Regions from separate parts of the Homo sapiens genome. Here region 2 is linked to region 1. The links are contacts of gene promoters, found by promoter capture Hi-C in blood cells and fetal thymus (Javierre and others, 2016). All regions are on one chromosome and are shown on one strand. The core of a region is centred on a gene start or on the middle of the fragment in contact, and the rest is flanking DNA. Distances in the headings are between cores, read along the strand shown.

The links. Contacts are between HindIII fragments. The CHiCAGO score rates a contact against its expected background, and 5 or more counts as called.
Region 2: the fragment with the promoter of ZNF836 here is called in contact with the fragment with the promoter of ZNF347 in region 1 in 5 of 17 cell types (non-activated CD4 T cells, fetal thymus, M1 macrophages and 2 more); the score reaches 8.9 in non-activated CD4 T cells.

What each region holds. Positions count from the first base shown.
Region 1 is chr19:53,156,020-53,160,602 of GRCh38, reverse strand. It overlaps ZNF347 (zinc finger protein 347), which reads left to right and starts at 1,550. Exons shown (of 5, transcript NM_032584.3): 1 at 1,550-1,594. RefSeq lists a silencer at 1,368-1,617 and an enhancer at 1,353-1,647. The HindIII fragment of the contact is 5,586 bases long and covers 1-4,583 here.
Region 2 is chr19:52,170,115-52,174,439 of GRCh38, reverse strand. ZNF836 (zinc finger protein 836) reads left to right here and starts at 2,819. Exons shown (of 5, transcript NM_001102657.3): 1 at 2,819-3,104. RefSeq lists a silencer at 2,651-2,700 and an enhancer at 3,281-3,420. The HindIII fragment of the contact is 2,622 bases long and covers 2,569-4,325 here.

The DNA.
Region 1 (4,583 bases), core at 301-2,800:
CAGTTTTACTGGAAGGGCATTTCTCCAAAGGCTATGGAAATGTTATTTTCAGTTTATGGTATTGAGCAATATATTTCATGGTTTATGTTCAATTGTAGTAAAATTACTTTTTATTTTTTAATATGATTTTCCCTTTTATTTTTTTCTTTCATATATTGTAACCCAGATGAAACGTTTAATATTTTGTTAAAGTGAAAACTATACGGTGTATATAAATAAGGGTGTTGTTTGGAGATAAAATTGTGTGACATGAAAATGTACATAAGACAATAGCAGGTATAAACTAGGTTCTCTATAAACATGAAAAAAGGGTATCCCTGTGAGTCTTTAGTTCAGTCAATGTACTGGGATGGTACGTTAGAAATACTGGAAAACTATTCTTTAGGCGAAAATAAATCCAATTGTCATGTGGTGACTATTTTCCACACTCTGTTATCCACATCTGATAGAACATTAAGAAACAGAAAACAAAAAAATAGACCCAATATAGATTACAATTTTAAAATAAAAAGTACTGTGTCAAGTTCCCTTCAGAATGCCCATAAAGTGAATTTGAAATTACATGATATTTAGAAATTATTGATTTAAGCATATTTTGATGCAAAGAAAGATTATGTCAAAGTTGTTTGTGGTTAAGTCATTTCAAGTGTGGAACGGAATAACGAATATAAGCAAAAATAATGCAGTTTATCTCTATTTTTTAAAAATTCACATGGTTTAAATCAGTAGTTGACTGGGCACAGTAGTTCACTCCTGTAATCCCAGCAATTTTGGAGGCCCAGGCAGGAGGATTGCTTGAGGTCAAGAGTTGGAGACCAGCCTGGGCCGAGACTCCCATCTTTACAAAAATATATGTTTTAAAGAACAATAAAGCAGCCCTTGGTGATCTAACTTATCGGCCTTAACCTTCCCATGAATTGAGCACAGGCTTGACTCTTCCACTGGGGAGAATGGGGATTTGAAATGTAAAGGAGGTTCTGTTGGGCTACTGCATTAAATTGCATATCCGTCCAGGTAGGATGCTGCATTTCCCATTCTACTTTGAATCATCCTCAGAGATAATTTCCAGACATTTTAGTTAAATTAAATACATTTTAATTGCAGGAATTGCTGGATCCAATCGCCGTGCCTCGTGGATCCTCCACTAAGATCCCAGTTCCCAGACCGAGATCCCCGATTCCCAGATCCCCGTTCCTGAGCTGCAGCAGACTCCCTAGCAGGACTGGGTCCAACCCGCCGGCAAACAATTTTAACATAAACCGTTTTCAACTTGGTAAGAGGAAATCATTTTGGTTTCTATCATAAGTGGTCCACGTAAGTCTATTCTTTCACCTTAAAACTGCTTCAAATTGGAACGGTGCTCCCGGGGACATAGTGAACACTCCAGCGTTTCTAAACCGGGAAAAATGAGACTGCGGGCTAGGCAGGCTGAGGGAAGCGCAGACCCCGCCCCAGCTCCGCCCCAGCGTTTCGTCCGCAGACCCCGCCTCTCCCCAGGCCCCGCCCCCAGAGTGCCCGGGCTCTTTTCCGCGCACGCGCAGTTTTCTGCAGTTCCGGAAGCGGATCGTGTTGGGTGCGGGTGACGCCGCCGAGCGTGAGTGTCCCTCAGTATGGATTAAACTTGCGAACCGCCGTGCCCCGTTTCCGCAGCCAGTTCCCGGGCTCGCTACAGACCTTTTTTTTTTTCTTTTTTTTTTTTTTTGGTGAGACGGAGATTTACTCTTGTTGTCCAGGCTGGAGTGCAATGGCGCGATTTCGGCTCACCGCATCCTCCGCCTCCCAGGTTCAAGCGATTCTCCTGCCTCAGCCTCCCGAGTAGCTGGGATTACAGGCATGTGCCACCACGCCCGGCTAATTTTGTATTTTTAGTAGAGACGGGGTTTCACCGTGTTGCCCAGGCTGATCTCGAACTCCTGACCTCAGGTAATCCGCCCGCCTCGGCCTCCCAAAGTGCTGGGGTTACAAGCGTGAGCCACTGCGCCCGGCAGCTACAGACCTTAAGATCCCCGCACCGCGCCCTCCACCCCAGCTGACTCGCGGTGTGGGTTCGGAGTCGCTTCTCTTTGGGTTGAAGTAGCTCTGAGGCTTCTCCCTGTCCCCGGCCTTTCGCGTCTTCCTCCCGCTTAAAACCCTTTCCTGACCCCTCCTCCCGCCCCGGGCTTTTTAAAGTCCTCGCCCGCGAGGTGGATTCCCGCCCTGGGTGCCTCCCAGCCTCGCCCTCGTCGGCCCCTGGAGCGCAGCTCCTCAGCCCCGGTACCGGCGAGGCCGCGTCCTCTGCCTGGTCCTGGCATCCTGCAGACCCCACCCCTCTTCTAAGGCGCCGTCGCCCCGCCACCTCCCTCCTCCTCGTGCCGGGCCCTGCTGCTCCCCAGGCCTCCCCTTCGCAGTCCCCGCTTCTCCTGAGCCCGCGCTGGGGAGGTGCCCGGGGCCTGTCCTGTGACACCCGGTGTTCTTGCCTGCCCAGCTCCAGCCCCTGGAAAATGCGCTCCTCCAAGATGCAGGCGTCTTAGTCCAAACCTTCCTGTGAATGTGTGGACCAAGGGGATTAGCAGGTAGAGAAAGGGGCAGAGACAGAGAGAGAAGTAGAAAAACTGAGAGGAAAGAGTGAGGGAAACCCGTAACCAGATGGCAAAGTAGAGGATGGGCGAGGGATTTGCAGATGGTAAGAGAAGGAGCTGAGAAGGCAGAAGGAGAAAAGCAACTGGGGAAATGTAGAGAAAAGCTCGATGTCCAGAGACATGAAGGACAGCAAGGTAGGGAGAGGGCCAGAAAGTGGGAGGCTCCTCAGACAGAGTCCGGGAGAGGAGGAGGGATTTGGAGCCAGGGCAGACAAGCAGCGTGGTGCTGGGACAGCAAGAGGGGACAGCCGGTGACGAGGAGAGCAGAAGGAGAACCACAGCAGGGGGAGGCCTGGGATCTGGGGGTGCCAGAGAGTGGGGCAAGAGGTGTAGAAGGGAAGAGGAGATTCAACAGAGGGAGCAGAGATGGGAGAAGAAAGAGGCAGAAATATATGGAGACTGGGGACAATGAAAAGACTGGGGAGAAAGAGGAATCAGAGTTGAAACAAGGCCCCAGAATGGGACAGAACAGGTGCAAGCGGAGGAAGAAGGGGAGAAATAGCAGGAGATGAGAGGGGCTCAGAACGACGCGCAAAGAACCAGGGGAAAAACACAGAAAATAAAAAATAAGCTAATGTGAGAATGAGAGCTATGTAGAGGATGAGGGAGGGAAACACACAGTATGGAAGCAAGAGAGGGACCCTGAGTCCAGGTGAGTGGTGCGTTGATTAGATGTGATGATGACATTGTGACATTGGTTTCTGGGTTTAAAATAATGCAACACATTTAAAATACGTTTACTTAAATTATGCAGTTGCAAATGAGAATGGAAGAAACTCCTTTATGTAAAATGCGTAACACGTGCATTTGACAATTATTAGTATTAGGGTATAGCTTCATTTGCAATCACTATTCAAACCAGAGGGCAGTGACTTCGCTCATTTAGTTTTGAGTCCACCCACTTCCCTTTTCCTGGAATAGGGTAGGGTGTGGGCGAGTGTATGAACTAAGAGGAAAAAATATTTTTCCTTTGATTTTCTTTCCTGTCACACTCAATACAACAGGGCACATTCTACACAGTGTCTCGCCTCCACTCACGAAAATGTGTGCGGATTTCTCCCACCAACAACCCGTTCTCTATCAGACACTAACTGAGTGTCGTATAGTTTAACTCAATTCTGAAACTCTCTACCTGGAGTTAGCATCAGATCCCACTGATTGAGGCTCAGTTCCACGAAATTGCCCCCGCATCAGGTGCCAGTTGTAAGTCTCCCGTTGGTACCTGAACTTCTGAGCGACCAGCTATACACTGGGGATTCCCTTGACATCCCCCTCCCCACCACCTCAGGTTCTATTAATTTGTGAGGGCGGCTCAAAGAACTCAGGGAAAACACTTCACTTAGTTTACACATTTGTTATGAAGGATATTACAGAAGATACAGATGAACAGTCAGAAGGAAGAGCTGTCCTAGAAAGTTAATCAAAGCCGAGGAGGGGTTAAGAGAACCACAGTATTTATCAGGTCACTCAAAAGTATAAGTGACAGTTACCACTGGCATACTGTGTCTGAAGTGAGGGGCAGTTTTAGACTGAGCTCTGAACCTGTAGCACCTCGTCATGCAGTCTTTTTTTTTTTTTCTTTTTGAAACAGTCTCGCTCTGTTGTCCAGGCTGGAGTGCAGTGGCGCAATCTTGGCTCAAGGCAGCCTCTGCCTCCCGAGTTCAAGCGATTCTCCTGCCTGCCTCAGCCTCCCAAGTAGCTGGGATTACAGGTGTGCACCACCACATCCAGCTAATTTTTGTATTTTTAGTAGAGACGAGGTTTTGCCATGTTGGCCATGCTGGTCTCTAACTCCTGGCCTCAAGTGATCCTCCTGCCTTGGCCTCCCAAAGTGCTGGGACTACAGGCATGAGCCACTGTGCCCGGCCCATGCTGTCTTGTAGATAATATCAGAGTTGAATGAAATTGTAGGACCCCCGCCTAACCCCCCCCCCCCCCCGAGCTGGGAGTCCCCTGGGAGTCCCC
Region 2 (4,325 bases), core at 1,570-4,069, 990 kb after region 1:
GGAAATTTTTTTTTTTAAGACGGAGTATCACTCTGTCCCCAGGCTGGAGTGCAGTGGCGCGATCTCGGCTCACTGCAACCTCCACCTCCCAGGTTCAAGCGATTCCCCTGCCTCAGCCTCCCAAGTAGCTGGGTCTACAGGTGCGTGCCACCACGCCTGGCTAATTTTTTGTATTTTTAGTAGAGACGGGGTTTCACCATGTTAGCCAGGATGGTCTCGATCTCCTGACCTCGTGATCAGCCCCCGTCAGTCTCCCAAAGTGCTGGGATTACAGGTGTGAGCCACAGCCCCCGGCCTTGGAAAAATATACATTTTTTAAATTTTATCTACTTTACAGTTTGGGCGGCCAAGGCAGGAGGCTCACTTGAGCCCAGGAGTTCAAGACCAGCATGGACAACAACGTGAAACCCTATCTCTACAAAAAATTTGAAAATTAGTCAGGTGTGGTGGCACATGCCTGTAGTGCCAGTGTATTAGTTTGTTCTCACATTGCTATAAAGAAATACCTGAGATTGGGTAATTTATAAAGAAAAGAGGTTTAATTGGCTCATGGCTCTGCAGGCTGTACAGGAAGCATGATGCTGGCATCTGCTTGGCTTCTGGAGAGGCCTCAGAAAACTTACAATTATGGCAGAAGGTGAAGGGGAGGCAAGTACTTCACATGCCCAGACAGGAGGAAGACAGAGAATGGGGAGGTGCCACACACTGTTTTTTTTGAGCCTAGGTTGGAGGGCAGTGGCACGATCTTGGCTCACTGCAACCTCCGCCTCCCGGGTTCAAGCGATTCTCCTGCCTCAGCCTCCCAAGTAGCTGAGATTACAGGTGCGTGACACCACACCCGGCTAATTTTTCTTTTTTTTTTTTTAAGAGACAGAGTCTCACCCTGTCACCCAGGCTGGAGTGCAGTGGCGCGATCTCGGCTCACTGCAAGCTCTGCCTCCCAGATTCAAGCAATTCTCCTGCCTCAGCCTCCCGAGTAGCTGGCACTAAAGGCATGCGCCACCACACCTGGCTAATTTTTGTATTTTCAGTAGAGATGGGGTTTCACCATGTTGGCCAGGCTGGTCTCAAACTTCTGAGCTCAAGTGATCCATCCACCTTGACCTCCCAAAGTGCTGGGATTACAGGCATGAAGCACTGCTTCCAGCCAAATTTCCTCTTATCAAAACATCAGTCAGATTGCATCAGAGCCCATTCTAACAAGCTTAGTTTAACTTAATAGCCTCTAAATGCCCTATTTCAAAATACAGTCATATTCTGAGGTACTGGGTGTTAGAACTTAAAGACAATGATTTATTTTATTTTATTTATTTATTTATTTTTTGAGACAGAGTCTCGCTTTGCCGCCCAGGCTGGAGTGCAGTGGCTGGATCTCGGCTCACTGCAAGCTCCGCCTCCTGGGTTCACGCCATTCTCCTGCCTCTGCCTCCGGAGCAGCTGGGACCACACGCACCCGCCACCACGCCCGGCTAATTTTTTGCATTTTTAGTAGAGACAGGGTTTCACCGTGTTAACCAGGATGGTCTCGATCTCATGACCTTGTGATCCGCCCGCCGCGGCCTCCCAAAGTGCTGGGATTATAGGCATGAGCCACCGCGCTTGGCCAACAATGATTTTTTAGGGACGTGATTCAGCTCATAACATTCTGTACTCTGGACTCCCAAAATTCATGTCCTTCTCACATGCAAGATCCCTTCACCCCCATCCTAACATCTCAAAAGTCTTATTATTATTATTTTTTGAGACAGAGTCTCACTCTGTTGCCCTGGCAGCAGTTCAGTGGTGCAAAGACAACTCATTGCAGCCTTGATCCCCTGGGCTCAAGAGATCCTCCCACCTCAGCCTCCCAAATAGCTGTGACTATAGGCGTGAGCCACCATGCCTGGCTAATTTTTGTATTTTTTGTAGAGACAAGGGTCTTACTATGTTGCCCCAGGTTGGTCTTGAATTCTTGAGCTCAAGCAATCCTTCCACCTTGGCCTCCCAAAGAGCTGGGATTACAGGCCAGAGCCACTGCTCCTGGCCCATTTCAAAAGTCTTAATCCATTTCAGTATCAAACTCTAAGGCCCAAATATTACCCAAATATTATCTGAATCACATATGGGTGAGACTCAAAGTGTGGTTCATCCTGAGGCAAAATTTCTGTCCAGCTGTGAAACTGTGAAGCCAAAGAAGCTATTTGCTTCCAAAATACAATGGTGGGACAGGCACAGGATAGACCGTCAGCCCTGGAAACCACCCTTCTACTCTGTTACTGTAATTTTGATGTTTGTAGATTGCACATGTAAGTAAGCACATGCAGGATTTGTCTTTCTGTGTCTAGCACATTTCGCTTAGCATAATGTCTTCAGGGTTCCTGGATCCAGCCACGGCTGCACATCAGATCTTCACGGAGATCCTAGTTCCCTGACTACTGAGTAACTTCAGCCTTAACTGGCTTCAGCCTCACTGGCAAGACCCGATGGAGTCCACCAGGCTCGCAAAAATCGATTTTGACTTAAATCAGTTCAACTTGACAAGAAGAAAACATCTTAGTTTCCAACAGAAGTGGACCACAACTTTAAGCTTTGACCTTAAAGTCTAAAACATTAACTTAAAATAGGCAGGAAGCAACGCTGCTTCACAGGACAAGAAATAGTCACAAATACTCCTAAATCGGGAGAACAAAGACTTGCTGGGTGGAAGGCAGAGCGAATAACAGGCCCCGCCCACCAAACAGGTCCCGCCCACACCGCCCGTCCCGCTTAGCCCACCTGGCCCCGCCCACTACCGCATCAGCCTTGCCCCACCCTTTCAGGGTTCCCAAATCTGGCCAGTCTTTCTGCCCTTTCCCTTGCGGGTCGCACCCCGCCCAGGCCCCTCTCCCGCCCCAGGTCTCTCAGTCTTTTTTCTCAGGGCGTGTAGCTTCCTGCACACCCGGAAGCAGATCGCGCGGGGAAAAGATCACAGCGCTGCGCGTCAGTTTCCGTCTACCTGGACTAAACATTTGCTTCGCCCCGTCTGCCTGAATCGAACGTGCACTTGGCAGTCTTCCCTTGTCCATACCCGTTTCCTGGGGATCGCTACGGACCTTAAAATACCAGCAACAGCCCCTTCGCCCCAAGTAAGTCTGATAATTGCTTCCCTTTCGGTTTAAAAATCTCTCTGAGGCTGTTCCTTGCTCCCTGCCTTTCTGCCTTAGGACCATGTAGACAACCCCACTCAGGTCGTGTTCCTGCTTAAAACCCTTACTGACCTCTGCTTCGGCCCTGCGCCAAGTCGAGTCCTCACTCGGGAGGTGGATTCCCGCCCGTTGCGACCCCGGAGCTTCTCCGTCGTCAGCCCCTGGAGGGGAGCGCCCGCCGTCCGGCTCCTGAAGGAGTCGCTTCTCCTCCCAGGTCCTGGGATTCTGCAGACCCTCCCTGTCCTGAGACACCGTACCCCCTGCCACCTTGTGTCCTCCTCACGCCGGGTCCTTTCGCTCCCCAGGCTTCCCCTTCACAGCCACTGCTTTTCTCGATCCCCCCCTTGGGGGAGGTCACCTGAGTCTTGTGACACCCAGTGTTCTTCCTTCCCAAATTTTACTCCACTGGAAAATATGCTTTTCCGGGAGGTGGGCATCCTATTCCTCCCCTTTCTTACTGAATGTGTGGGTGAGAGGGATCAGGAGAGGAAAAGAAGGGGAGCGACGGAGCAAAAGGAAAGACCGAATAGAAGAGAATGAGGGAGACCCATAAATACACGGCAAAATGGATGATAATTTAGGGATTTGCAAAGAGACAGCAAGAGTGAAAGAGAACGAATGGAGAAAGAAGCAGGGGGAGGAAAGCACACAGAGAAATTTAGAAAAAAAGGGGGACCTTCAGAGAGATGAAAGGCAGCAAAATAGAGTGGGGCGGCAAAGGAGGAGGCACTGCAGACAGACAGTGGGGAGAAGGTGAAAGAGTTGGAGCCGCAGCCGACAGAGCTACGTGGTGCTGGGACTGAAAGAGAGGGAGAGAGGGCAGTGGGTGACAAGCAGAGTAGAGGGAGAACCACAGCAGGGAGGAAGCCTAGGGAGTTGGGGGTGCTAGAGAGTGGGAACAAAGGAGGTGTAACAGGTAAGAGGGAATTTTAACAAGGAGAGCAGAGAGGGAGCTCAGATGGGGAAAAAGAGGCGGAAATACGTGGAGATTGGGGACAATCAGAAAGATTGGGGAGAAAGAGCTACGAGAGGTGAAGTAAGTTGCAGAGCATCGGGCAGAACAGACATAAAGAGGAGAAAAACAGAAAAGGGGAGGAAAGGTGCAGAATGAGAGAGGGACACACACAATAGTGAAGAAAGTGGGAGAGGACCCCATCCAGA